Regions from separate parts of the Homo sapiens genome. Here regions 1, 2, 3, 4, 5 and 7 are each linked to region 6. The links are contacts of gene promoters, found by promoter capture Hi-C in blood cells and fetal thymus (Javierre and others, 2016). All regions are on one chromosome and are shown on one strand. Each heading gives the region's core, a stretch centred on a gene start or on the middle of the fragment in contact. The rest is flanking DNA. Distances are from core to core; before and after follow the strand shown. Region 1 has its middle 63 kb from the start of ZNF32. Region 2 holds the start of DEPP1 (DEPP autophagy regulator 1). Region 3 has its middle 48 kb from the start of LINC02658. Region 4 holds the start of ZNF32-AS1 (ZNF32 antisense RNA 1). Region 5 has its middle 24 kb from the start of LINC02658. Region 6 holds the start of CXCL12 (C-X-C motif chemokine ligand 12). Region 7 overlaps ZNF485 (zinc finger protein 485).

Region 1 (4,236 bases), core at 919-3,418, 670 kb after region 6:
GTGGATGGATGGTGATCATGTTTGCACAACATTATGAATGTATTTAATACCACTGAACTGCACATTTAAAAATGGCTAGGATTGTAAATTTTACGTGATATATATTTTACCATAATTTAAAAATTGGGAAAAAACAAAGATTATCAAATTGAGGGAAACAAAGTTTAACTTCATTTAGTAGCAAAGAAAACTAAGTCTAACAAGAAAAATTACAACTGAGAAGAGTGTGTATTTGTGTGTGATTCAGAGGACAGAAATGGACCCAAAGAGTAGAATTTAGAGGGACTCTGAGATCAGCTCAACACAAAGAGTGTTCTGACGTTCACTTGTCCAACAGATCCGTACCAAGCACCTCTGTGTGCCAGGCACTGGAGAGGCAGTGGGAGCGGAACAGAAGGTCCTGCCTGGGGATGGCCAGCTGGACTGCCCCACCAAGGGCCACTGCCCATCACTTCAGGAAGAACCTGGATACCTGTCTCAGGAGAGTGCCATGCAGCGAGTTCCAGATTTACAGGCAGGTGAGCTGGGTCCAATCTGAGGCTCCTGTGAACCCAATGGATAGTGGATGATAGTGTTTGTGCTTCTTAGGTACTCACAGCTCCACTCTCAAAAGAGGGAAAACATCTTTCACCTCGCCCTTTGCTCAGCCACTTAAATTTACATAGAGACCTATAGTGTTTATGACAGAAATGATCGTTGGAAAGACAGTAACAAGCCATATTGCATCGGGTTCCCCAGTCCTGCACCAAGAAGGGCACACCAGCTCCAGACACTCCTGCCAGAAGTGTGTGACCTCATCATGAGAAAACTACAGACCCACCCAGACTGAGACATTCTGCCTAGTAACTGGCAGCATCCTTCTAAGTCTCGAGGGCATGAAAGAAAAGGGGCAAAATGAGGACTGTTACAGACTGGAGAAGACTGAGGAGACATGAGGGCTGTGTGCAAGGTGGGATCCTGGAAGAGAAACAGGATCACAGCGTGAAAAGCGCTGGAATCTGATAAAGGCTGCCATTCACTCAATGATACTGCACTGTTCATCTCTTAGTTTTCATTATCGTGCTAAGGGGGGTCTCTAAAATGTACATACTGTATTGGTGAAAACTCTCTGTACTTTATTTGCAATTTTCCTGTAACTCTAAAATTATTTCTAAATAAAAAGCTTTGTAAAAACTCCCACCCCTGGCCTGGCTTGTACCTGTAATCCCAGCTCTTTGGGAGGCCAAGGCAGGAGAATTGCTTGAGCCTAGGAGTTTGCAGCCAGCCTGGGCAACTTGGCAAAACCCCGTCTCTACAGAAAATACAAAAATTATCTGGGTATGGTGATGCACACCTGTAGTCCCAGCTACGCAGGAGGCTGAGGTAGGAAGACTGATCGAGCCTAGGACACAGAGGTTAATGAGCCGAGATCGTGCCACTGCACTCCAGTCTGAGCAACAGAGCAAGGCCCTGTCTCAAAATAAAGAAAAAAAGAAAAGAAAAATTAAAATCCCCACCCTGAGCCCAGCCCCAGGGGCCCCAACCATCAGGCCAAATGTCTGCATTAAGGTCCACAGTGCTTGTCTGCAGGGCACAAAATGGCCTCTGCACAACCCTTGTCACTTGGAAGGTGTGTGCGTGGCTGTGTATCAGCTGATGCTCCCTGGGTCTCTCTGCTCGTCTGTCTGCTCCCCACTTAAGCTGAAATCCCACCCCATGCTTCCCCCTTCAGTGCTGCCTGCACACATCCCCCCAGCAACCCTCCTCTGCATGGGCATGGGTGGGAACCATGTATCTTGTGACCTAGGCTCCAGAGGATACTGAGGAAATGTGAATCCACTTAGATTTTTAAAGGGCTGGGAGGAGAGAGGCATCGGTATTGCCAGAGTGACCTTTCCCCAAGGCCAACCTGACCGAGCCCTGTTGGTTCCAGTGCCTCTACCCTGCCCACCTCTTGGCATAGCACACAAATGCCTGGTATGACGTCTACATCCTCGTCCAGCCTGGCCCTGGACCTGGTGTCTCTGGGCCGGTAATTCTCCTGGCCAGATAACAAGCATTGTGCCACCTGTGGACCCAATCGCCCTGAGACCTCAGGCCCCTCCCTCGCTCACTTGCCTCCTGGCTGCGCCTCCTCTAGTGGTCTTGCCACCTTCACCCCTGAGTGCCACCTCTAGTGAGCTGGTTAAACCACTGAGATTCCTGCCCACAGGAAGATGCACCTGCTTCCCTAATTCTTTCCTTCTCTCTCAGCCACAGCTGAGAGTGCCCAAAGAGAAGTCCTGCCTAATCACTTCCAGGCTGGGGGATAAAGGGCAACTTATTCTGGATCCAATGATGCTTATAAATCCATGGAGCAGCCAACAGCATTATCAACAGAGAGGCTGCACATCCTGTCCGCAATGGCTATACATAACTTAATTTTACATACAAAACTGTAATTCAAAACTGTTGAGTCAGGAGCCATTTCAGTCATTCTCAACTCTTAAGAGCTTGTTTCTTTCCACCCCCTATCCCTTTAGCCTCCCACTCCAACTAAGTGTTTTCTTCCCAGAACTCATTAAATCCTCTTCCACTTTCATTTATTTTCTCATTTTCCCCCACAGCCCTTCTCGCTGGTTTTAATATTTTTGTTTTCTTTTCACCACCCACTATGCAGCCTCTCTATGATGGCAAGCACTGTTCTTTCCAGAATTCCTAGCTCTTGTCCCCACTTTCGCTTCTCCCCTGTTTCCCCCTGGCTCTCCTGCCCTGATGGCATCATTTGTTGACTTCGGAGGTGTTTACCCTTTTAATCTTCTGAAGTTTGGAAAGGGGATTGCACATTTCCCTCCATGTGTTTTGCGAGAAGACCACATTTGGTGGCAGCTCAGGCACTGCTGAGCGGCCTTTTTGCGATTCAGTTGATCTGTTTGCCTGCTCCTTGGGTTGTTTAGTAAGGCCTCTGCCAGCATGCTTTAGAAAGGGCTGCATGGCTGTCCTGCCACCTACCCCTGGTCCACACTGGGCTCATGGGAAGGCAGCTCAGAGTCTCATCCCTCTCCCCTCCCAAGCACCCCTCCCTTCCAAGCCACATCTGCATTCTGTGAGCCCCATGCAAGATCCAGCTCCATCTGGCTCGTCCCTGTTTGATAACAACTATTTCCCCCATAGACCAATCAGTCTTTCTGTGTAGATGTGGCACTTTCAAGCTTCCATGACAACTTGAACGTGTAGACTTTTATCTTCAAAAATGGTCTTAGGAACCTTCTGCCATATACTATGTCCCCTAGATACAGAGTAATGGGGTCTGCGGTTGCACCTGCTGCAGTGCTGTGTGTAGAAGAGGTACTGCTATTCATGCCCTGCAGACCCCCTCTGGTGCCACATCATGATGCACCTGCCCTCTCCTGTGTGAACAGATACAGACTGAGCATGCAGCCAAGAGTCAGAAGAAAGACCTGGTGCTAGTCCCACATCCTTGTACTTACCGGCGTAGTCCCATATCCTAGTATTTACCGGGCTAGTCACATATCCTTATACTTACCAGGCTAGTCCCACATCCTTATACTTACCGGGCTAGTCCCACATCCTAGTACTTACCAGGCTAGACCCACATCCTAGTACTTACCGGGCTAGTCCCACATCCTAGCATTTACCAGGCTAGTCCCACATCCTAGTACTTACTAGGCTAGTCCCATATCCTTGTACTTACTGGGCTAGTCCCACATCCTTGTACTTACCGGCGTAGTCCCATATCCTAGTACTTACCGGGCTAGTCACATATCCTTATACTTACCGGGCTAGTCCCACATCCTTATACTTACCGGGCTAGTCCCACATCCTAGTACTTACCAGGCTAGACCCACATCCTAGTACTTACCGGGCTAGTCACATATCCTAGCATTTACCAGGCTAGTCCCACATCCTAGTACTTACTAGGCTAGTCCCATATCCTTGTACTTACTGGGCTAGTCCCACATCCTTGTACTTACCGGCGTAGTCCCATATCCTAGTACTTACCGGGCTAGTCACATATCCTTATACTTACCGGGCTAGTCCCACATCCTTATACTTACCGGGCTAGTCCCACATCCTAGTACTTACCAGGCTAGACCCACATCCTAGTACTTACCGGGCTAGTCACATATCCTTATACTTACCAGTCTAGTCCCACATCCTTATACTTACCGGGCTAGTCCCACATCCTAGTACTTACCAGGCTAGACCCACATCCTAGTACTTACCGGGCTAGTCCCACATCCTAGCATTTACCAG
Region 2 (3,853 bases), core at 180-2,679, 590 kb before region 6:
GTCTCAGGCACTCCCTGCCCCGATGCCTTTGTGCACATGGAGTTCCCACCTAGAATTCAAGAACTTGGGACTGCCGGTCCCTCTTGCTTGCCTAGGGAGTCTGGGGTCTGCCCAGTACTCAGAGCTCAGGCTTGGGCTAACTCTCAAGACTCCTCTTTCTCCCCCACCTGCAGCACAGGCAGGCGTGTTCCAGGTGGGGCTGTGGCTGGGGCAGAGGATCTGTGGCCTGTCTGGGGAGTGCAGGAGCTTCCCAGGGGCTGCCTCTCTCATCCTTGGCAGCCTCCTTTGCTGGCATGGTCACTCCTGGACAGATGCAGTGGCTTTCTAATGTTGCCCAGGTGCTCCTTGGCAGCCCCCCAGCCCCAGCCCCAGCCCAGTCCCAGCAGCTGCAGCGATCCTTTGAAGCAGAAGCCAGACTGCAGTGCCCTTGTTCAAACCCTGCAGTCTTTCCCTCCCTCCTAGAGGGAAACACAGCATCCACCCCAAGGTCCACTGACCCCCTCCTACATGGGCCAGTCTGCAGGCCCCTTGCTGTGCCCTGAGCATGTCTGTCCGGCGCGCCCTCACCACAGGGGCTTTGCACGTGCTGCCCCTGCCACCTGGAATGTGCATTTTCCCATTTTTTTCAGGTTTCTGCTCCAATATCTGCTCTTAGGGAAGACACCCCTGACCACTGTACCTGTGGCGGCAGCCCACCACAGCATGCCACTGCGCTGCTTTCCTTCAGGCAGTTCTTGCTGTTGCCTGAATCACAGCACCCATTCATCTCTGGCTTGATCTCCTCCCTTACTAGAATATGAGCTCCAGGGGGCCACACCTTTGTCCGCTGCTACGTTTGCTGTGCTTAGTGCATTCACAGCACACACTAGCACCTCATATCTGGTGAACAAGTAAACAAACAAATCCTCCGAAAGCACCCCATCTGGGGTGTAAGAAGACCAGGGTCAGACCCCGCAGACCGCCCTTGGTCCCTTGCGAGCAGGGTGTGTCTCTCCTAGGAGCAGGCCTAGGGACCCAGCCTCAGCTGCCTCCAGACTGGGGTCCTGTGCTGCTGATTTTTCATCAAAGTTGCCAAGGACCTGGCCCAACTTCACAGGAGTCATGATGGGGTGGTGTAACACAGAGTGGGAAACAAGCTTTGGGGCAGGGGTGGCCCTGGGGCTACCTGTGAGGGCCCAGTGGAACCCCTCCCTCTCCCAGTGCCCCTACTTGACCAGCAGTGAACCCACCCCTTTCCTGCCCTGCAGCGTAAACATTCCCCAGCCTCCTACAGGCAGAAAAACACCTCCAAGCTGGCAGCTGGGCCAGGCCCCGCCCACCAAGCTGTTTTCCTAAGACAGCCTTCCGAGCAGGCTATTTTTGGCCCTCGTGACAGTGATTGATAGCTGCTGGGAAGGTATAAAAGCAGCTTGCCTGCGAAGGTTCTTCACACTGCTCAGGGAAGAGCCTGCTACGGTGGACTGTGAGACTCAGTGCACTGTCCTCCTCCCAGCGACCCCACGCTGGACCCCCTGCCGGACCCTCCACCCTTCGGCCCCCAAGCTTCCCAGGGGCTTCCTTTGGACTGGACTGTCCCTGCTCATCCATTCTCCTGCCACCCCCAGACCTCCTCAGCTCCAGGTAAGAGAGAGCAGCTGCCCTTGGGTTTGAGACAAAACACAAGGGCTTTGTTTATTTTTGAGGGCAATTCCCAGCCTGAACTTGCACAGCCTCCCTATGGGTTAGAGACCAGGGCTGTCTGTAGAGGGCTTTGCATTTATAAAGGGATTCAGGGGTTATTTCATGCATTTCCTACAACATCCCGGCCAGGGGTATTTATAACCCTGTTTTATGGATGGGTAAGTGGAGGCCTGGAGAGGTGGCCTTGCCAAAGGTCCCATGGTCAGTGCGTGGCCGATCCTGGTTTTAAACCCAGCCTTCCTCTGACCAGTGTTTGTTAGGTTAGGTTCTCTTATCTGTGCACATTCTGAAACGATAATGATAAAATCTTAAGCCTTTGGGGTTTTTAACCTGAACAGGAAGAAAAGATCCCAGCAGTCGGAGCTCTGGTCTGGGCTCTGTAGACTTCAAATTGCTCTCAGGGCACCGGATTCCTACAGGCAGCCCCAGAGGAGTGTGGTGACGCTGAGGGGCGGTGGGACGCATGGCAGGCCCTCACCACCAGGCTTCTGTTTCCCAACAGGTTGCCACCTCCTCTCGCCAGAGTGATGAGGTCCCGGCTTCTGCTCTCCGTGGCCCATCTGCCCACAATTCGGGAGACCACGGAGGAGATGCTGCTTGGGGGTCCTGGACAGGAGCCCCCACCCTCTCCTAGCCTGGATGACTACGTGAGGTCTATATCTCGACTGGCACAGCCCACCTCTGTGCTGGACAAGGCCACGGCCCAGGGCCAACCCAGGCCACCCCACAGGCCAGCCCAGGCCTGCCGGAAGGGCCGCCCTGCTGTGTCCCTGCGAGACATCACCGCACGTTTCAGTGGCCAGCAGCCCACACTGCCCATGGCTGATACTGTGGACCCCCTGGACTGGCTTTTTGGGGAGTCCCAGGAAAAGCAGCCAAGCCAGAGGGACCTGCCAAGGAGGACTGGCCCCTCTGCTGGCCTCTGGGGTCCACATAGACAGATGGACAGCAGCAAGCCCATGGGGGCCCCCAGAGGGAGGCTCTGTGAAGCCAGGATGCCTGGGCATTCCCTGGCAAGACCACCGCAGGATGGGCAGCAGAGCTCTGACCTAAGAAGCTGGACTTTTGGGCAGTCTGCCCAAGCCATGGCCTCCCGCCACCGCCCCCGCCCCAGCAGTGTCCTCAGAACACTCTACTCGCACCTCCCGGTGATCCATGAACTCTGACCCCTCCCCAGTAAAGGCTTCTGTAGAGAGCATGCTGGGTCTGCATCTCCTCTCGTCTCCTCCATGGTGGTCACTGCCCCTGGCAGGTCTCTGAAAGGGAAATGCTTTTCTGCAGAGGCCCCTGCTTGGGCAGTTCACAGTGAGACCGACCCCCTCTGAATATGATAACAGCCTGTTTCACATGAGGAGATGTTACCAATCCCGTTCGCTCTGACCCTTGCTGGCTGATCACCTTGAGCAACTTACTTAACATCTGTGTTCCTCAGTTTCTCATGGGTAATATAGGGATAATTACTGGCACCTGCCTCCCAGGCCATTCTGACGTGTAACCGCATATAGGAGCCCACTGGCTGAGTAGCTACCATCATCGCTGGTGGGGAAACTGGTGGTAGGGGTGTGAGGGTAGTGGGGGTGTCAGCCCCCCAGGTGTTTCAGAACAAGGCCTCGGGCACTCCCAAGTCTGCCTCTTGGCTCCCACCCTCAAAGCCCATGTTCTGTGAGGCCCAAGAGAACACATGGAGTCTTAGCAAATGCACTAATGTATTCCGGGGGACTGTCACCTGGCACCACTGGGGCACTCTGCTGGCTACAACTCATACGTCCTGTGGTGGCATTGGGAGAGTTCCCCCATGATGAGGGCCAAGATAGAATCTGTACCACTCAGTGCTACCATCCCCACCCCTACACCACTTCCACACAGGGGCCTCATGGCATGGTCAGGGTCCCAGCTGTGGGTGAGAGCAGGGCACTGTCCAGCTGTCCACTGGGGAAGTCAAGATGTCCTAAGGCCCAGGTCAGGGCATCTGGAGTCTGAAGGACCCTAGTTCCTAGAGGCATCTGGCAGCAAGAAGGTGAGGCATCAGGGAACGGGAATCAGGCTGGGACTGATCAGAGGTGAAGGGACAGAGAGAGGAGAGGAGGAAGATTGAGCTGGGGGCAACAGCCAAGCTCACCTGGGCAGGTCTCTGCCACCTCCTTGCTCTGTGAGCTGTCAGTCTAGGTTATTC
Region 3 (4,084 bases), core at 1,010-3,509, 650 kb after region 6:
TGTTGTGGGGTGGGGGGAGGGGGGAGGGATAGCACTGGGAGAAACACCTAATGCTAAATGATGAGTTGATGGGTGCAGCACACCAACGTGGCACATGTATACATATGTAACAAACCTGCATGTTGTGCACATGTACCCTAAAACTTAAAGTATAATGACAATTTTAAAAAAGAAAAAAAAAAGAAACAAATGGCATATTCAAAACCATAAAGAAATATCCTGATGCCCAGGTGATGAAGGCTGGGGTGAATAAGTCCTCACATTTATTTCAAGTTGTTAAGGAGTTTGTGGGCAAAGCAATGGTCCCTTGCATGCAAGAAGTCAAAGAGCTCCTCTTGCAATCCTCTTCTGTATGTGATCGAGAGGATAACACGCTTGTCACAGAGCTCTAGCTGCTTCCAGGCCTTTACACATTTCTCCAACTGCTCACATTGCTATCTCACGGTTGTTAGGGGATTCACTCATTCCTCCTCTTCCTCTTCCTCCTCCTTAGGATCTCAGGACCTGCTCAGCATCTTTTGCTCATCCTCCAGTCCCATGTCTGGCTACGGTTCCAGAGTCAATATGAGCAGCAACAGCGGCACCTAATTGACTTCAGGATCAAAAAGGACTTGAATATTTTGTTTTGTTTTTTATTTCTCTGTTTTCTTTTACTTGCTTTGCTGTGGGTTACTTGAACTTTCAGAATTCTATTTTGCTTTATACTGTTTTTGAATGTGCAGCTCTTTGAGTAGCTTTTGTGTATATGGCTGCTGTAGTATTATACCATATATACAAAATATCACACTCTAATGATGTCATTATTTCATCAGTTCAAGTGAAGTATAAGCATCTATTTTTTATAAGTCAATTTACCCCCCTCCATTTATAATTGTCTTGAGTTGTTTATGTTCACCCTGCATAGGATGAATCCCTTCCAAAATTTGATTTAGATGTCAAGACTAATGATACTATATTGACCCCAAGAGAAAATGGAACGGTTCGTGACTCACATAATGAGGCTTTCTGAAAAGAGCACCGCGGCTCACAAGCAGTGCCAAAAATGGCTTGAGAGAGCAGAGAAAAGCTTGGGGTATTTATGGTTGTTAGCGAGTAGGGCCTCAGTGTAGGTTCCTACATGTGGTAAACCTCCCCTGGCTGAAGGAGGGAGAACCCAGGCTTTCTTATCAGTTTGCCCAGATGTGAAGCAGAAACAGAAGGAGGAAGGATGAGGCTTCAAAGCTGTCAACCATCAAACATCAAAAAACTGGATCAAGCTCTGTTACATCATTATTTCATCTACAAACATGTAAAGTTTGTCTCTCCATCTTTTATGTTAAATAGATATTTTCTAATGTACCATTTTAATTCCCTTGTTTCCTTAAGATTGTTTTTGAGTTATTTTTCTTAGTGATTGCTATGGGGATTATACTTCATTCTAACAATCTAGTCCAAGTTAATATCAACTTAATTTTAATGGTATATAAAAACTTTTGCTTCTATATAGCTCCATTCTCTTCATTTCTTTCTTTGTGCAATTGTCATCATAGAAATTACATCTTTTTGTACACCCATTAACACTGTGTTATAATTATTACTTTATTGCATTGACTTTTAAATCAAAAATGAGAAAAAAAAGAAAAAACATTATACCATATTTTATATTTACCTATGAGGTGCTTGTATTTCTTCGTGTGGATTTGACCTACTACCTAGTGTCCTTTCATTTTATCCTGAAGGACTCCCTTTAGCATTGTGGGGGGGCAGGTCTACTAATGACAAACTTCATCTCTTAAATTTACCTGAGAACGTCTTAATTTCATCTCTGTTTTTGAAGAATGATTTTGCTGTATATAAAATTTTTGGTTGACATACTTTTTTCCCCCACATCAGAGTTTGATTTAGTACTGTTGCGAACACACAGAATCTGAAAAAAATCCAATGCAAACAGAATAGATTTCTTGGGATCTAATATTTTTTAATTGCCTGACAACCTACCCTCTAAGAAAATCTATTTAAGGGGGGCAAATTATTTTCGAAAGATGAGTATAAGAGGCAGTTGGAGGAAGGTAAGGAAAATTACCACTACATATTGCAGAAACATACTGGAAGGCAAATATAGCCCAAAGAAAAACCTCCACTGAAAAAAAAATGTTGAATGCTGACCATAGATCTAGCACCCTGCTCCCAGGTCAATAATTTGAACCAAAAAAATTTAAAAGACCTTGCTCAATCCTGAAGTTAGTGAAGGAATATAGGAGGGCTGTGTGTTAATGTTACACATGAAATCAAAGAGCACTGCTATTCAAGGGGCATAATGTCTTGATCTTAGGATCAAATACTCTAGGCCTTGAGCTGAAGAGTCTGCATTGCAGTAGAAAAATGGGAAGTGCTTTATGCACATGGATTCAGGACATACCAGCAACCTACCTGTGCAGCATTGTCTAAGCCATAATGATCTTCCTCATCTCCCACTGGAGGTAGATGTAAGAATCTCTGGCTGGGCGCAGTGGCTCACACCTGTAATCCCAGTACTTTGGGAGGTCGAGGTGGGCAGATCGCGACGTCAGGAGATCAAGACAATCCTGGACAACATGGTGAAATCCCGTCTCTACTAAAAATAAAAAAATTAGCTGGGTGTGGTGGTGCACGCCTGTAATCCCAGCTACTCAGGAGGCTGAGGCAGAAAAATCGCTTGAAACAGGAAGTCAGAGGTTGCTGTGAGCCGAGATCGTGCCACTGCACTCTAGCTTAGAAAAAAGAAGAAACCTTCCAGTCTGTAAGAAGAAATCTCTTACAGAACTTTGATAGAAAGTTGGGTCTTCCCCCTCGCCTGTCTTCTTCTTCTTCTTCTTCTTCTTCTTCTTCTTCTTCTTCTTCTTCTTCTTCTTCTTCTTCTTCTTCTTCTTCTTCTTCTTCCTTCTTCTTCTTCTTCTTCTTCTTCCTCTTCTCCTTCTCCTTCTTCTTCTTCTTCCCCTTCTTCTTCATCTTCTTCTTCTTCTCTTCTCTTTTCTTCTTCTTCTTCCTCCTCCCCTTCTTCTCCTTCTCCTTCTTCTTCTTCTTCTTCCTTCTCCCCTTCTTCTCCTTCTCCTTCTTCTTCTTCCTCTTCTTCCTCATAAGGAAACCAAACATTTATACTTGTTACACCCCCTGAAGCTGAAAGCAATAAAGAATGAACACATACAGCAAGTTGCTAGGTGCATCTCTGTTTAGGAATTGCCTTAACATTGGGTTTCTATTGACAGAACCAGGGAGGAGGTTGCCTCAGACCTTCCTGAAGCTCCATTGTCCCCTGGCTGAGCAGACCACAGCTAATTTTAAGTGGCAAAAGAAATGCAAACAAATTCCTCCAGGATGAGAAGTGTGATTTCGGGCTAAAACGGTGCTCTCACACGGGGTATATGAGCACATTCAACCACCACTAGAATAGAACCTGAGGGTGCGCACTTGGTGCCAACTGCTGGAAAGCTTTCAGTTAGATAAGAATGGAAGAATGCCTGAGTTTTTAGATAATTTTAGACATTGGGATATGGTTAACAGGTTGTGTTCAGGGCCTACTCTTGATATTGTCTAAATAAAAACAAAAATAACTGCCTAAAGAGAACATCTACATCCTAAATGACAAAACATATTATCTGGGTGAAAGGATGATTTAACTCGTGAAACTCAAGAACACAAGAACAACAACTATAATCGTTTCCTTGAACACGGTCGCTAGAAGGGCAAAGCATTTTTCTACATAAAACATTACAATTTTCCCACTACTCCAAAGGAATCCAATAAATAATTGTACAGTGAAAGGGCCTGGATCAAAACTGGAAGTGACACCGGCTCCCGACGAACACAAGTCACAGGTCCCTGTGCAGATCCCAGGTTTGAGTCGTCCAAGAACGCACCACCCCCACCGGCCTGTGGTTTCATCTTTCCCCAATGGGAATGGCCAGAGGGTCCAAGCTGCTTTACAGAAGACTGTTCCATCTGGTAAGCCCGGTGCTGAGCTAAGCCAAGATGACAAACGAAAAGTGGTCAAAGCCAAGGTTTCCTCGCGCTGCCTTTGTCTTCTTCCCACTGCCTGGCCTGAGCCCTGCAGCCGGACCTCACGAGG
Region 4 (3,797 bases), core at 1,180-3,679, 740 kb after region 6:
TACATTCACTTATGTCTCAACAACTGTTGACTTTTTCCTTCTCACATATCAATTATTCTGCCCTTTCCTGTTTGTTTCTGTTTGTTTTTCTCCCTCAGGTGCTCAGGAACAGCCCATGGAAGAATCATATGAAGAGGTGGTGACTGAGGTCGTAAGCAGGAGTGGACATGTTTGGATTTCCAACAGCTACCCTGCTGGACTGTCATGGAAGATATGCCCAGAATGTAGCGTTCTTCAGTGAGTGAGTCAGTTGATGGCTGGATGCGCTCAGCTCACAGATATTCAGTGTCCCTGTTCTCAGCACTGGTCGGCAGTCTGAGGAAGCAGAGGAGACCTTGCTTTGGTAGAGCTTGCTGTTCCTAGGGTTATAAGAAAAGCCTGTGAGCTGGAGTTAGAAGTAATAGTAGAAACAGAGCAAGAGAACCATCTTGATATGGAGGTAGCGTTGAAGTAGTCTCTGAGAATGAATGAGCAGCTTAAATCTCAGCACTGTCTCTGAATAAGGCAAGGGAACAAGGAGAAGATTACCCTGGAGTGACAGACACCAAGAAAACTGTTAATGGTGATGAATGGACCCATATTTAAAGTGCACCAGGAGGCTCAGATGCAGGGCAGTATTCGGAAAAAAAAAAGTCAATATCTGCATAGAGAATAACTTCCAAACCAAAATTGATTTCAGTTTTGCCATAGCTTAGTAGACTGAAAATAGCAAGGATTTTAATGGGAAAAATTCCTTGGATCAGATTCTATAATTGCCATGGCTAGATCTGCAGTATCAGACAGGTTATTTAACTTCCTTAAGCTCCAGGTTCGTCTGTAAAATAGGACAATAAGTTCTATCTTGTAGGGTTGCAGGGATTAGCAATGATAGATGTAAAGTACCCAGGATTGTGCTACATATTTTCTGAGGTCATGGTGCTTATTCTATTGTCAGAACAGATTGGACAGAGGTGGATTTCTGAAGAAGCAAATGCAGCTTCAGTTTTAGGACCCCTCACTTGGATTGGTCTCTCCAAGACCCTGTGCTTAATTTTATACATTTTCTTAAAAGGGTGCCTCTAAAATGGGAAAGTTTTAGGCCTTATATAGCCTGGATCCACACCTGTTTTGGAGTCAGATAAAAGTTGGGTATGGGGCTCTGTGTGATTCTGTATAGTTTTCTAAATTTTCTGAGCCTGTTTTCTGACCTGTAAAATAGAGAAAACCATGTCTATCTTACAAGGTTATTTGTTGGCCTAAATTAAATTTAGAGGCAGTACACTGCTATGGAGAATGCCTATTTGAGTCAGCTCTAACTTACCTAGCTCTGTGACCTTTGACAGGCTCCCTTTGCTCCCATTATCTGTATCACTCTCATGGCATTGTTTTCAGGATTGCATTGTCTATGCAAAGAATAAGGCCTGGCACATCATAAGCACTCAAAGTATTATGTTTCTTTTTCCCTATTCTAACTCAGCATTATTGGTGCTTCTTATATGACTTCCCTCTCATTTTATCAGATGTGATGACTGAAGCCCACCACAAATATGACCACTCTGAGGCTACAGGATCCTCAAGCTGGGATATCCAAAATTCTTTCAGAAGAGAGAAGCTGGAACAAAAATCCCCAGATTCGAAGACACTACAGGAAGATTCACCTGGAGTGAGACAAAGGGTCTATGAGTGCCAGGAGTGTGGAAAATCCTTCCGGCAAAAAGGTAGTCTAACGTTACATGAGAGAATCCACACTGGTCAAAAGCCTTTTGAGTGCACCCACTGTGGAAAAAGCTTCAGGGCCAAAGGCAATCTTGTTACACATCAACGGATACACACGGGAGAGAAGCCTTATCAGTGCAAGGAGTGTGGGAAAAGCTTCAGTCAACGAGGTAGTCTCGCTGTCCACGAGAGACTCCACACTGGACAGAAACCCTACGAGTGTGCTATTTGTCAGAGAAGCTTCAGGAATCAGAGTAACCTTGCTGTTCACAGGAGAGTTCACAGTGGTGAGAAGCCCTATAGATGTGATCAGTGTGGAAAAGCCTTCAGTCAGAAAGGAAGCTTAATTGTTCACATCAGAGTCCACACAGGCCTGAAGCCCTATGCCTGTACCCAGTGCAGGAAGAGTTTCCACACCAGGGGGAATTGTATTCTGCATGGCAAAATCCACACAGGAGAGACACCCTATCTGTGCGGCCAGTGTGGAAAAAGCTTCACCCAGAGAGGGAGTCTGGCTGTGCACCAGCGAAGCTGCTCACAGAGGCTCACCCTTTGACCACTTTCCTGAAGAGAAGTTCTCTTTATGAATTAAGAGTACAAAATCCTCTGAGATGAAGCAACCTATCCAGTTCTATGGAATGAATGGAGAATCTTTCAGAAAGACCATCATTGGGTAGGGCAAACTGATTTTTTTCCTTTCCCCCAAAAGAGTATGAAAAATAAATGTCTTGTTTATTATCATTATCATGTATGTTTTATAATTTCTGTCACTTTATTCTGACCTGATTTTTCAAGGTACCCCCATTAATCTGGTGCCACACTAGAGATTGTTCTGTGTATACCCAATACAGATTTTAAATTTGTAGTTGACACCATCAGGCTTTTATAAATGTAAAAAATCAGCCCCTCATCAATCCCAAGTTATTTTTCTTCCTTACATATTCAAATTAATCTTGTTTTGCCTTCAAAACCACTGGGCAAAATCCATGGGGCAAATCTAGTTACCTTTATAATCTTCTTGTTGAACATTTCATTACCTGGATGATACCCCCAATAACCTATTGTAACTAATCACTCATGTCTATAGCAAGGGGCCTAGCCTTTTATTACAAAAGAAAATTTCTTTCCAAGCCTGCACAGCCTTAGTTTGTGCATTGAGACATACTTCAGTCCTCCACTCCTAACTAGGATAGAGATAATTCACCTGTAACCAAAGAGCAAACAACTACTGTCTGTGCAATTTTTAAAAATCTTTAACCCATTTCTCCCCATCTACTAAAGGGACTCCTACATTTTCAGAGACCTTCACTCCCTCTTTGGTAACAGCAGCAATATCTTGGGGTTGGGTTATCTAGAAAGGATATAAGTGTTATTACTGAACCCAGACTTGTAGTTTGTAGTCAATAATGAACTTCCACTTTCCAACAATACTATCCTCTTCCTCCTGCACACACACCAAGAAATTTGGAATTCTAACCCATCCTTTTTTCTGACCTCCAGGGGATGAGATTTGAAGAAGGCTGCAGAGGAGAAATTGGTTTTGAGGGGAAATTTCCATTTCCATTTTTTAAAATCTTAGCCATCTCTATAATTTTTCATACTGAGCATTTATGTAAGTGAAATGATGAATGATAGAGATTTTGGTTTTCTTGGTAAGACACCATTCCATCCTTTCTAGTGGATCCTATAAATCAGTGGTCCCCAACCTTTTTGGCACCAGGGACCAGTTTCATAAAGACAATTTTCCCACAGAGGGGGATGATTTTGGGATGATCCAAGCACATTACATTTATTGTGCACTTTATTATTATTACATTGAAGTATATAATGAAACAATTATAAGGTACTCACCATAAGGTAGAATCAGTGGGAGTCCTGAGCTTGTTTTCCTGCTACTAGACAGTCCCATCTAGGGGTGATGGGAGACAGTGACAGATCATAAGGCATTAAATTCTCATAAGGAGTGCACAACCTAGATCCGTTGCATGCACAGTTCACAATGGGGTTCACACTCTTATGAGAATCTAATGCTGCCACTATCTGACAGGAGGCAGAGCTCAGGTAGTAATGTGAGCAGCAGGCAGCAGCTGTAAATACAGATG
Region 5 (4,157 bases), core at 750-3,249, 630 kb after region 6:
GAACCAACCCAAATGTCCATCAATGATAGACTGGTATAAGAAAATGTAGCACATATACACCATGGAATACTGTGCAACCATAAAAAAGGATGAGTTGATGTCCTTTGCAGGGACATGGATGAAGCTGGAAACCATCAGTCTCAAAAAACTATCACAAAGACAGAAAACCAAACACCGCATGTTCTCACTGATAGGTGGGAATTGAACAATGAAAACACTTGGACCCAGGGTGGGGAACATCACACACTGCCTGTCGGGGGTTGGGGGGCTGGGGGAGGGATAGCATTAGGACAAATACCTAATGTAAATGACGAGTTGATGGGTGCAGCAAACCAACATGGCACATGTATACCTATGTATCAAACCTGCACGTTGTGCCCTTGTACCCTAGAACTTAAAGTATAATTTAAAAAAAAAAAAAAAAGAAAAATCAAGTGCTTTGAAGAGTGTCTGGCACATATGAAGTGCTGCACAATTGCTATTACTCTTTTCATTATGTTTATTACTACTGTTACTCCCCAATGCCAGCAGATATCAAGATAGCAATGTTCTAGATACATTCAGAATTCAAGAATCACAAACACTGGCAGATTGCCTGCCGTCCGAGATAATATTTCTCCCTTGGAAAAGAAAAAGAAAAATGTAGTCTATGTAGCAAAGATTATCTAGCAAATATTATAACATGATGAATCCTTTATTAGTGTTTATAGGGGAAAAAGAAAGAAAATCATTTTCCAAACAGTAGAATTTCGAACTAAGAACAATTAGGTCTGAACATTCCTCATGGCTCAGAAGTGACAGACCACCCTGGTGGCATCCTCCTTCGACAGGCCACAGGCTGAGCATCCAAACCATGCAGTCAGCAGTTCAGTGGCAAGGGAGCCTCTGCCTTCAACACAAATAAAATCCATGAAAATGAGGAGTGAGGGGGAGAGCCTGCTGCCTAACACTCTACATCCTGATGCCTCTGAATACAGGAATTGCACAGATGAGAAGAGAAGAAAGAAAGACACAGCGTGTATCTCACTGTCACTGGGCAGGGACCAGGTTGGGGAGGACAGAGTGGAAAAAGTCTGATCATTTCTGCAAAATGGTGTCTATGTTTGTCCGCTGTGCTAGTTACAGTCCTTTCCCTGTGGTTATTTCTTAAAAGATGGAACTAAAAGGCCAATACTTAGAAAAAAACTTAAAAGGATTTAAAAATCACAGGCAGAAGTTCAGATGACACACCACATTCAGACTGATGGTGAGGAAACCTTTCCCGATAGAGACCTCGGTCTCTTTAGAACTTCACATCTCAGAATAATGAGGAGCAAAACTCTAAGTAAAGCAAATCATTTTTGCAATTACATAGACTTTGCCAGAACAACTGTGAGGAAACTGAATCAGTAATATTAGACTCTGAAAGCTTTTTTCCCTCCACCAACTACCACGGACAATTTTATACAGGACAAGAATTTCCAGCCAAAATAACCAAATATTTTCTTTACCACCTGGCATGCTGCTTCTTCCAGCTTGTGTGGTACATTGCTAGAAGTTTCTCTGCAGAATAAAATTACCCTCTGGGAGCTGGGTACATGGGTTGGTGGTTAGAGCTACTCTGGACCTAGTTTGGTCACTTGGCAGGGAAAGCATCAGTAAACAGACTGAGTGAGGAACCATGGGTAAGCCATGTTTTCAGGAAGCAGACAGTCTGTGAGGTAGGAGATTTAAAAGAAGAAAAAGAAACTGTATTGTGGGCGGCTTCTATTCTTCCTGGGCTAAGAAGTAGTAAAGGAGTAGTGGCCAAAAAATAAAAACTGTGCTATCAAAAAGAGAGAAGAAAAAGAGAGATACCAACAACCAGTAGAAAAGTGAGCAAAACCGCATGGACGGTTCAGAGAAGCAAAAGTGCAGATGCTTTCAAATATGGGAACAGATTTCAATCTCACTCTTAAAAGAAAGGCAGTGGTATTTTTCACTTAACAAGTTGGCAAAATTCAAAAGCTGTGATGGCAAACTGTGTGAGTGATGGTGCGGAGAGATCAACACTCTCCTAGCTATTATTGCAAGTGGGAGTGCAGGTTTACAAGCTCAGGGGAGAGCAGGCTGGCAAAGCACTCAGCACCAGAAGTGTTTGACTCAAGGACACCACTTCTACAAAGTGAGAAACTGAGTATTTTTTTAAATAAGTCTCAAAACAATCTAAATGTTCACAATAGGGGACTGAATAAATTATGGTGTGATCATACAGTAGAATATTATACAAGTTCGTAAAGAAGGAGGCCTGTACGATTTGGAAGGTTCTGCAAGGTACAGGGTCAAGTTCAAAAGGAAAGGAAGGGCCACAAAAGTACCTTGTTGTGCTACCACTTGCATATGAAAGCTCCTCTGAACAAATGCAGATGTGCTGCCGAGGTAGCGGACACCTCTGGAAGCTGGCAGCAAGGGCTGCCTGGAGGGAGAGGAAAATAGTGAAGCAAGAGATACCCAAACCCATTAAAAAGTGTGCTGTATGTCTGGTGTCTATGTAGATGCGTGCACATAAATAGAAGAAATATTGAGCGTTCCCACAGGCGTGAGCTGTGTTCTGTCTGTACTGTAAGCTTATGGGTGACTTGTATCTTCTTCCTTGTAGTATTTTTTGAGTTTGTAAATATTTCACAGCGAAATTAGATGCTTTAAAACAAGGATTGTTTTCCTTCTAAAATTCTCAATTATCTCCACCAAACAAAATACCTGGGCCAGGCACAGTGGCTCACGCCTGTAATCCCAGCACTTTGGGAGGCTGAGGTGGGCCGATCACCTGAGGTCAGGAGTTCAAGACCAACTTGGCCAACATAGTGAAACCCCATCTCTACTAAAAATCCAAAAAAAATTAGTCAGGCATGGTGATGGGCGCCTGTAATCCCAGCTACTCCGGAGGCTGAGGCAGGAGAATCGCTTGAATCCAGGAGGCAGGGGTTGCAGTGATCCAAGCTCGTGCCACTGCACTCCAGCCTGGTGGCATAGCAAGACTCCATCTCAAAAAAAAAAAAAAAACCTGCTCAGTTAATTCAGTCAAAACAAGCCTTTTGATTGTGGCACACTCGAGTTGCACAGTGGGATTGGAGCCGGAATCCCCATCTCCACCCTCGGAGGACAGTCAGGGCTCACCACCCACCCACCTGGGGAGCCTGGCGCCCAGCAGCCCCACACTCCCTGTGTTCCGCCAGGCCCCATGGAGGCTGCAGAGGCAGGGCGGGATATTTGGGGACAGAGTTCCACTTATTGTCTCTCTCAGGTAAAGCCTTCCCAAACGGTGCTGCTATCGGAATTGAAGACTTGGAGCTATTTTGGTTGCATTCTTGGCCCTGAGAGACAGGTTTCCTGTTAATACTGTTTTGACCGAGATTGTTTGGGCCTCTCCAGCGGGAGACCAGATTTAGATCAAACGCACAGGATCCTCCTGCTGCAACAAGAAGGGCCTGGGACACCCAGGGAAGTCCAAGCCCCCGCTGTTAGAGGGTGGGAAACGGGACTGGGGTGCTTTCTCTGCTGCCCCAGGAGGCCCTGGTGGAGAAAGGCCCGCCCGCCCGGAGCCACACAAAGCCCAGGAGGCTGGGCCGGCAGTGTGGAGGTCAAAGCATCCCGGGCCCCATGTGGAAGGTGAGTCCCCCCTCTGGGGCCCAGGGCCCGGCTGAGGAGGCTCACACAGTCATACTCAGAGTGCCAGCCCTCACACAGGACTGTTTAGGGCCTGCCACTGGTCAGCCACCATTTGGAGTTGCTGCCGGGAACATGGAACCAAGGAGACCTTGGGAGGCAGGGTCTGTCCTGGCCTCTCAGACTAACCTGGCAGATGCCCTCACACAGGCAGGAAGAGATGCTGATGGGAGGCTTGAACGTCCCAGTGTTCCCACGGACACTTCATTCTCAAAGGGAAAGAAGAAAAGGGAAGGCCTGCCTGCCCAATTCGGGTGTACAGAGAGGGACCGCAATGTATGCAGCACAGTAGAGACAGCTCTCTGGAGATGACTGTCGGGTGCACCATGCCCAGGCTGGGGAGACCTCTGAAGCAGGCAGGAGGGTACTATCTGGTAACCACAGTCCCTGGGGTAGTTGAGTGGCCAGGTCCTAAGCAGAACCTACTCTTTATTCCATATTTGCATTCCATGTTCCCTTTGCAAGGCTGGGGA
Region 6 (4,123 bases), core at 376-2,875:
CCAGCGCTGCGGCCGGTGAGCGGCCAGGCTCCCCGGCCCAGCCCAGCAAAGGCCTGGGGACGCCCGACGGCTGCCTTCTTCACTGGACCTCACTGCCTTCAGTTCTTTAAGAGCAGGGCCAAGTCAGTGGGGTTCCCGGCTCCAAGCCCAGTGCCCAGGGTGGGTGGGTGGGTGGGTGGGTGGGTGGATGGATGGATGGATGGATGGATGGAGTGCCGGCCCACAGCCATCTAACGGCCAAAGTGGTTTTGGAAAAAAAATGCACAGAAGACACCTACTCCCACCAGCGGAGTTCCGGAGCCCTCGCAGCCTCCTGTTGACCGCTCCCGCCTAATGCAGCCGCTGACCGCCCACTCCCCGACGGCCAGGACTCCCCAGGGACAGGGACGTGTCCCCAGGGCAGGCCCCTGGATGGACGCGGCGACTGACCCCACTTCGCTGGACGCTGTGCTGGGAAGGACACAGAGAGGTGGCTGGGGCAGCCTGCGGTCACAAAGCGAGGCCCAAAGGGGCGCTCTCCTCACCCCCACGTCTCCTGGGTGCCGACCTGCACCCTCCCTTCGCCACCGGACTGGGGCCATCTGGGATGTCTCGGGGGTATCCGGAGGGCTAAGCACCGCCGAGGGACGGCTCCGTGGGAAGAGTTTTCTGGACCCAGAAGGCAGACGCCAGTAGTACTGTCCTAGGAGTCGGAGGTCGGGGTGGGGGAGTTCTCAGCTCTTTGGGTCGCACGGAGCTTTTCTTGGGTAAGGCAGTAAGTACTTAGGTTTAAAGGACTTACTTACAGCTACCATTTATTGAGTACTGTCTGCTTGTCAGACACGATGCAGAGAATTTCGCGGCGTGGGGCGGGTCTCATTGAATCTCCCGTCCCACTCCGCGGGGTGGGCCTGTGATTAGCTCATTTCACCATTGAGAGGTCGGAAGTACAAAGGCTACATTCGCTTTTACTGAGAGCCGCCGGCGCCTTCTGCTTTGTTTGTACAGGCGAGGAAACTGAGGCTCGGCTGGTGGCGCCGTGGGCTTGGAGTCCGAGCCACGCTGACTGCAAAGACGGGTCTCATTCCCGCAGATCGAGCTCTGCCGGCGGCTGCGCCGCAAGCCGGGCAGGTGGCGAGCTTGAGCCCCCACGCACAGAAAGCAGGACCCCCTCGGCTGCCTTGGGCCGCCACCGCCAGCAGGCCCTCCGCCCGGGACTAACTTGTTTGCTTTTCATTGGTTCTCATTCAGTTCCCGCCATCGAAAGGCCCCGTCCCGCAGCTTTCCACGCGCGCCCCACTTTACGCCTAAGGTCCTCAGTCTCTCCAGTGGGGCCCTGTCACAGGGACAATAAGCGGCCCTCCAGCCGGCGTCGCTCAGGCTGCGGACCTCACTGCAGACCGGGCCAGCGGTGCGGGGCCCAGCGGAGCCTGAGAAGGTCAAAGGCCGGAGCGCACTGCGCCTCGGGAGCACAGAGGGAGCGGAGGAGGGGCGAAGGGGATGGGTGGGGGGTGCCGCCGAGGGAGTCGCGCGTCAGAGACCCCGGCCACGGCCAGCACTCGGCTCCGGGCCCGCCCCTCACCGCGCGCCCCGCCCCGCCCCGCCTGGCTCTCCCCTCTAAAGCGCCCGGCGCGCGCCTCCCACCGCCGCACTTTCACTCTCCGTCAGCCGCATTGCCCGCTCGGCGTCCGGCCCCCGACCCGCGCTCGTCCGCCCGCCCGCCCGCCCGCCCGCGCCATGAACGCCAAGGTCGTGGTCGTGCTGGTCCTCGTGCTGACCGCGCTCTGCCTCAGCGACGGTAAGTGCGCTCGGCGGGGAGGCCCTGGCGAGGCTCTGGGCTTCGGCTCCCGCCCGGCGCAGAGCCGCGGCTCCTCTGCCTGCGCCCGCAGTTTGCGCCGCCCGACACAGTGGGGGTGGAGGCAGCTCGCTTAGCTGGGCGCTCTGGTGCGGTGTCGCGTTCAAAGCCCTACTTTTGCGCCGAGGGTTTGTGACCTGCAGAGAGCGACCGCCTGACCTCAAGCTGGCTGCAGAGCGAGGTCAGCCGGGACAACTGGGCAGGAACGCCCCAAGAGAGCGTTCGGGACTGGCGCGGGAAGGCGCGAGGGTGGGGAGCCGCGGACCCCAGACCCCTGCCTGCCCACCCTCCACCCACTGCCTTCCCGCTGCGGGCTCGGTTTCCACAGGCGAATGGGCTCCGAGGTCCTGCTGCGCACAGTGCTGGAGGTCGGGCGGTGCATGGCGAGAGCGCGCTTTGCAAAGTTCGCCTCATGCCGCGACTTGAGGCTGTGAGGTCCGATGCAGCCGCGCAGCCTCCGCTCCCTGCGAAGCCGATCCTCTCCCCACACCCTCGCGGGGCTCTTGGCCAGGCGCGGGCGGGCTGCGCGGCGCAGCTGTCGGGCTTGTGCCACCCGCCAGGCCGCGCTTCTGCACAGCTCCGCGGTCCGCAGCGACGCGGACCTGGGCGCGCGTCCAGCCGCTGTCTTCCTGTCTCTTCTCGGGTTCACCTGAGAGAGGCCCAGGGACCCTCCGAGCCTCACACGCCCCCTCCCCAGCTCCCCAAACACACCTGCAGACAGGCTCTTTTGTCACCAGCTGGCCAAGCGCTTTGCCCCAGAATGAGAGCTGCAGCAAAGTTCAATCTCCAAGGCCCTGGGCCACTGGGAACCGTGGTGTCCCGTTTCACTGGGAGAGGGCTTTTTTCTTTTCTTTCGCTGAAGAGAAACTCGCTGCGCTGTCACAGGACACCGATGCAAACCAAAATAAACTGTTGCCTCTGAACACACAAAACAAAACCCTGTGGCTCAGGCCGCTGAGCTTCCTTGGCTGTGAAGTTTCCTGCAAAGAGTTGAAGGACACTCTGAGTGCTCTTGCAGCCGCGGGCTGTGCAGGCCCAGCGCGCCTCGAGCCCTTGGCTGGGTTGGTGCAGACGTGGCCCCGGCGTCCTAGCTGGCTTGGACTGTGCGCTGGTGTGAGCAGGACCAGCGCAGCTGAGTCGGGCTGGAGAAGCTGGGCAGCCTGGGGTCGTGGCGGACTGCCTAAGTGTTAAGGACACAGACTGAAGGCAATTGGGAATGTTCGTCGTTGATGAAAAGTCCCTGAGGCTGTGTCTGCACACTGACCCCCCCCCCCCCCCGCAAGTCATGGGGCATGTTTCTAGTTTTTATTGCTGGATATTCTTCTGTTCCTGTAAGGTCTCTGGTTTGGGCAGTTATTGACTGATTGGTGGGATGAGCGCGGAGGTGTCACAGTGCGCCGCTCTGGGAAATGGTGCTGCCCCCTCCCCGGAGGGCTGGAGAGAGGATTGGAATGAGGAACCTCGGTCTTTGAGTTATGGGTGCAACTGACCTGGGGGAAGCACAGAGACGTGGGGTTCATCCCAGACTCCTCCTGGCCTGGGAAGGGTGACATGGCCCTCAGAGTTGCCCCATTGGCAGCCAAGTAACCAGGGCAGGAGCCTGGGCTCCAGGCAGATCTGCTCCTTACACACATCGCCAGAATGTTTTGTTTTGTTTTGTTTTCCCCTCACCTCACAGTGCCTATGTGCCCCCTATCCCCACACTTAGTCCTCAAGCTGCACTACAGAGAGAGCTTGGCCAGGGGTCCTGCCCCTCCCCCATTGGCTGACTTCCGTCAGGCAGCTGGGCCCTTGGGTTTCCCGGGCTTAAACTCAGGGTGGGCCCCCTTCCCAAGCCTGCTTGGAGGGGCCAGCTGGGCTCCTGTCTCTGCATTAGACTGGAGGGCTTTCTGAAAACTCCTGGAGCCAAGCTCACCCGGTCCCAAATCCGGGGTACCATCAGAGCCAGTCAGGACTCTTGCCGGTACACGGATTTACATCCAGAACGGTTGGGAAAGTTAGTCTTACTGACAAAAAGCTGGAGGAAGGAGCACATGAGGTACACACGAGACCATGTTCTTTTGGTAAGCACACCTGGGGGCTCTGTCACTTTAAAAAGACCTGTTGAAATTCGCTGCTTGACAGGCGGGCCTTAGGTCCTGGGAGTAGAAGCAAGAATTGCTTTTGAAGGAAATGGATAATCCCAGGGGGTGGAGGGGGAGAGGAGAGAGAGCCTGTGTGTTGAGCTCTGAATAGGCTCTGATTTCTGGCCTCATCACCACTGCTTGGTTGGGGGGCCAGAGGAGCTTC
Region 7 (3,919 bases), core at 600-3,099, 770 kb after region 6:
TTTGTCCAGGTCTTTTTGAATGCATATAATATAGATTTCCTGAAACTTGCTTCTTTAACAAGGGTATATTGGGTATATTATCATGGGTATATTTCTACTGTTGTATTTTTTTACTTAGAGATGGAGTCTTGCTATGTTGCCCAGGCTGGAGTGCAGTGGCTATTCACATGCACAATCATAGTGCATTACAGACTCAAACTCCTGGGCTTAAGCAATCCTGTCTCAGCCTCCCAAGTAACTGGGACTACAGGCATATGCCACCATGCCTGGCTTTGTACAGTATTTACAGCTCCACCTCATTCTTTTCAATTAGCACACAGTATGCTATAACTACTTCCATACTGACATACATTTAGTTTCTTCAAATATTTCACTAGTAGAACCTCACAATGAATATCCTCACAAGTGATGTGTTCTCTCAGAAGTACAGAGTATTTCTGTTAAATGCATAATTTATTTAATGTCTCCTCTATGATGGTCAGAAGGAATAAACTACTCTGCACAATTTGCCACACTAACTACATTTCATGGCTCTTTCTTTATTATGAATTTTCTTATGTTGCTTAAGGGCTGAACTTCGGGGAAAAGCTTTCCCACATTCATTACATTTATAAGGTTTTTCCCCAGTATGGAGTCTCTGATGTTCAACAAGGCCTGAGCTGTGCCGAAAGGCTTTCCCACATTTCTTACAGTGATAGGGTTTTTCTCCAGTATGAATTCTCTGATGTCCAGTAAGGGTTGAGCTCTTTGTAAAGGCCTTCCCACAGTCACGACACTGATACGGTTTATTTCCACTGTGAGTTTTCTGATGACCAGCAAAGGATGAGCTATACCTGAAAGATTTTCCACATTTACTGCAGTGATAGGGTTTCTCCCCAGTATGCATTCTTTGGTGACTAATAAGAGTTGAGCTCTTCCTAAAGGCTTTTCCACATTCATTACACTGATATGGCTTCTCACCAGTATGGATTTTCTGATGTTCCAACACAGTTGAATTATCCCTGAAAGCTCTCCCACACTTGTTACATTTAAAAGGCTTCTCTCCACTATGTATTCTTTCATGACGAGTAAGAGCTGCATTCTGAGCGAAGGCTTTCCCACAGTCATTACATTTGTAGGGTTTCTGGCCAGTATGAATTCTCTGATGACTTAAAAGGATTGAGTTCTTTCTGAAAGTTTTTCCACATTCAATGCATTTGTGGGGTTTCTCCCTAGAATGAATTCTCTGATGGTTGATAAACGTTGAGTGCTTCTTCAGGAACTTCCCACATTCAATACATCTATAAGGCTGTTTGCCTGCATGAACCTTATGGTGATTTAAAAGGGATGAACTGTTCATAAAGGCGATCCCACATTCTTTACATTTATGTGGTTTCTCACTGGTGTGATTTCTCTGGTGGCTAATAAAGGACGAATTGTATTTGAAGACTTTCCCACATTCCTTGCACTTATAGTTCTTCTCTGTGGAGCTTCTGCCCTCCCAGTCCAGGCCTTTTTCCATCATGACACTTTTCGTTCGCTCTCCCAGAACAGATGCTTCAGAAGTGCTTTGCTTTAGGGCTGACATCTTTGTTTCAAACCAGTAATCCTCGACTGAAAGAAAATTTTAAAAATTCAAATGTTCTTTATGTTGAAATGCTGAAAGTGAGAGTTGTGCAAGGACTTGAATAATGTTCTATTCTACATAACTAAAGGTTATGAAAAATTATTAATGTGTCCCACTTGTGATTCTTGCTGAGAAAAGATGGCCAGACTAAGGGCAGGAAAAGGAAGTATGATTTTAAAGAAAAGAAAAGAATCTGTACTATAAACATTGCATTTAAAGAATGCAGTGAGCCCCTAAGAAGTTGCCAAGTTAGGAAGACAACACAGGAAACAGCTAAAAAAGAAAAAAGACAATGTGAGAATAAATACAAAATTGAGGAGAAAGCCCAGAGTCACAAAGCAAGCTATAATTACTACTAGGGCAGATTTCTGCAGGTGGTATATTTGAGAACATTATGATGTCACCAAGAACTTGAGAAAAATAGTTCTCTGTGAGGATTTAAGAGTGAACCAATATTTAATTGCTCAGTGGAAAAAAGAAAACAGAAAAAATATTCAAGGAACAAAAATAGTTCTCAGGCCAATAAGATTTTACTATAAACTAAATTTTTAACATATCTAAAAAACAACATACCTATGCCAGGCACGGTGGCTCATGCCTGTAATCCCAGCACTTTGGGAGGCCGAGACGGGTGGATTACTTGAGGTCAGGAGTTCGAGCCCAGCCTGGCCAACATGGCAAAACCCTGTCTCTACTAAAAATGCAAAAACTAGCCAGGCATGGTAGCACATGCCTTTAATCCCAGCTACTCGGGAGGCTGAGGCAGGAGAATCGCTTGAACCCGGGAGGCAGAAGTTGCAGTGAGCTGAGATCATGCCACTGCACTCCAGCCTAGGTGACAGAGCAAGACTCTGTCTCAAAAAACAAAAAAAAAATTACCAATCAATGGGTGTACTATGTGAATTTTCTCTAGCTTTTTACAAAGTACAGACACAAGACCTAAGACAGACAGAGCGAAATGATTCAGACAAAAACGTTCTGAAAAACTAATAGAGCCAAACTTGTAGTAAAATTAACAATCACCAACCAATTATTTTACTAAATGCGCTTTTCTTATAAACATAAGTTGTATCTATCTATACCTAAAGATATATACACATACATATATTTATATGTATTTATACTTAGTAGTCTGGGGAGAAATTCCATGCAATGGATATTAGAGCTAAGACTTATTTTTTCAAGGAAATGTAAGTTGAAGGTGAAGCCCAGTCAGAAACAGCCCACATTCTTCCAATGGCCTTTGATGGGATATGTGTTTAATGTATTATGATCAAACTAGAGAAAATTTCAAGATACTGATTGTAAAGCTGGCAACGTGAAGACACATATGGGCACTTCTTCTATGACAAAGGTGGTCTTGCAAAGCAGTGAGGAAGAGGAGATTCTGCATTAGTACATTTTAGGAGAAAAAAAATATATAAACCCTAACTCATATGATGCACAGAAATCCATTCTAAGAGGATGGTAAATGTAAACATAAAAACCAAATAATAAAGCTTCTAGAAATTAACACAGAAGAATATCTTCATGATCTCGGGAAAAGAAAAAATATTAAAATCACAAAAATAATAAATGTTAGTAAATAATTGTTAATATATAATTTAAAATAAACATTTTAAATAAAGCATGACACAAAAAAGCACTGACAAAAAAGAAAGGGATTGATCAAATGGAAGAACTGGGCTGGGCACGGTGGCTCATGCCTGTAATCCCAGCACTTTGGGAGGCTGAGGCAGGAGGATGGCTTGAGGCCAGGAGGTCCAGACCCACCACCTGGGCAACATAGCAAGTCTCCATCTCTACAGAAAAAAAACATGTTTTGAATTAGCTGAGCATGGTGGCATGTGTCTGTAGTCCCAGCTACTCAGGAAGCTGAGACAGGATTGCTTGAGCCCAGAAAAAGGAAGAACTGCTATTCATCAAGACCATTAACAGTCAGTAACAACAGAGAGAGGGATGGTACAATACATGTAATCAATAACAGGCTCTTCAAATAGTTACCCAATCAGAGATGCTCTATAGGGACCAATAAATATTCTAAAAGGTCTTTTTTTTTTTTTTGATACGGAGTCTCACTCTGTCGCCCAGGCTGAGTGCAATGGCGCAATCTCAGCTCACTGCAACCTCCACCTCCCAGGTTCGAGTGATTCTCCTGTCTTAGCTCCCCGAGTAGCTGGGACTACAGGTGTGTGCCACCACACCCAGCTAATTTTTTGTATTTTTAGTAGAGACAGGGCTTCACCATGTTGGCCAGGCTGGTCTCGAACTCCTGACCTCAGGTGATCCGCCCACCTCAGCCTCCCAAAGTGC

The links. Contacts are between HindIII fragments. The CHiCAGO score rates a contact against its expected background, and 5 or more counts as called.
Region 1: a fragment that was not itself captured here is called in contact with the fragment with the promoter of CXCL12 in region 6 in 11 of 17 cell types (naive CD8 T cells, total CD4 T cells, monocytes and 8 more); the score reaches 9.3 in naive CD8 T cells.
Region 2: the fragment with the promoter of DEPP1 here is called in contact with the fragment with the promoter of CXCL12 in region 6 in 1 of 17 cell types (M0 macrophages); the score reaches 5.3 in M0 macrophages.
Region 3: a fragment that was not itself captured here is called in contact with the fragment with the promoter of CXCL12 in region 6 in 3 of 17 cell types (M1 macrophages, neutrophils and erythroblasts); the score reaches 5.9 in M1 macrophages.
Region 4: the fragment with the promoter of ZNF32-AS1 here is called in contact with the fragment with the promoter of CXCL12 in region 6 in 6 of 17 cell types (erythroblasts, megakaryocytes, fetal thymus and 3 more); the score reaches 8.5 in erythroblasts.
Region 5: a contact is called between a fragment that was not itself captured here and the fragment with the promoter of CXCL12 in region 6, in 1 of 17 cell types (M1 macrophages). The highest score is 5.6, in M1 macrophages.
Region 7: a contact is called between a fragment that was not itself captured here and the fragment with the promoter of CXCL12 in region 6, in 1 of 17 cell types (megakaryocytes). The highest score is 5.3, in megakaryocytes.

The regions. Positions count from the first base shown.
Region 1 is chr10:43,709,586-43,713,821 of GRCh38, reverse strand. No RefSeq gene overlaps it. Among named protein-coding and RNA genes, the nearest start is that of ZNF32, 63 kb to the right of the region's middle. The HindIII fragment of the contact is 2,008 bases long and covers 1,165-3,172 here.
Region 2 is chr10:44,976,385-44,980,237 of GRCh38, reverse strand. DEPP1 (DEPP autophagy regulator 1) reads left to right here and starts at 1,429. Exons shown (of 2, transcript NM_007021.4): 1 at 1,429-1,620; 2 at 2,183-3,853. The coding sequence starts at 2,208. The coding sequence ends at 2,846. All of the region lies in intron 3 of RASSF4 (Ras association domain family member 4), which reads right to left. RefSeq lists enhancers at 1-533, 1,163-1,457. The HindIII fragment of the contact is 406 bases long and covers 1,139-1,544 here.
Region 3 is chr10:43,728,789-43,732,872 of GRCh38, reverse strand. It overlaps the pseudogene SPRING1P1 and the pseudogene UQCRHP3. Among named protein-coding and RNA genes, the nearest start is that of LINC02658, 48 kb to the left of the region's middle. The HindIII fragment of the contact is 2,381 bases long and covers 1,069-3,449 here.
Region 4 is chr10:43,642,504-43,646,300 of GRCh38, reverse strand. ZNF32-AS1 (ZNF32 antisense RNA 1) reads right to left here and starts at 2,429. Exons shown (of 2, transcript NR_047557.1): 1 at 2,194-2,429; 2 at 1,254-1,451. It overlaps ZNF32 (zinc finger protein 32), which reads left to right. Exons shown (of 3, transcript NM_006973.3): 2 at 99-237; 3 at 1,500-2,439. The coding sequence starts at 168. The coding sequence ends at 2,251. All of the region lies in intron 1 of ZNF32-AS3 (ZNF32 antisense RNA 3), which reads right to left. It overlaps ZNF32-AS2 (ZNF32 antisense RNA 2), which reads right to left and starts at 359. Exons shown (of 3, transcript NR_047558.1): 1 at 4-359. RefSeq lists an enhancer at 1-665. The HindIII fragment of the contact is 1,613 bases long and covers 2,190-3,797 here.
Region 5 is chr10:43,752,982-43,757,138 of GRCh38, reverse strand. No RefSeq gene overlaps it. Among named protein-coding and RNA genes, the nearest start is that of LINC02658, 24 kb to the left of the region's middle. RefSeq lists an enhancer at 2,679-3,390. The HindIII fragment of the contact is 1,177 bases long and covers 1,411-2,587 here.
Region 6 is chr10:44,382,599-44,386,721 of GRCh38, reverse strand. It overlaps CXCL12 (C-X-C motif chemokine ligand 12), which reads left to right and starts at 1,625. Exons shown (of 3, transcript NM_199168.4): 1 at 1,625-1,777. The coding sequence starts at 1,717. RefSeq lists a silencer at 1-96 and enhancers at 1,990-2,681, 2,682-3,375, 3,376-4,069. The HindIII fragment of the contact is 14,357 bases long and covers 1-4,123 here.
Region 7 is chr10:43,613,965-43,617,883 of GRCh38, reverse strand. ZNF485 (zinc finger protein 485) reads right to left here. Exons shown (of 5, transcript NM_145312.4): 5 at 1-1,593. The coding sequence ends at 515. Among named protein-coding and RNA genes, the nearest start is that of ZNF485, 9.5 kb to the right of the region's middle. The HindIII fragment of the contact is 2,517 bases long and covers 591-3,107 here.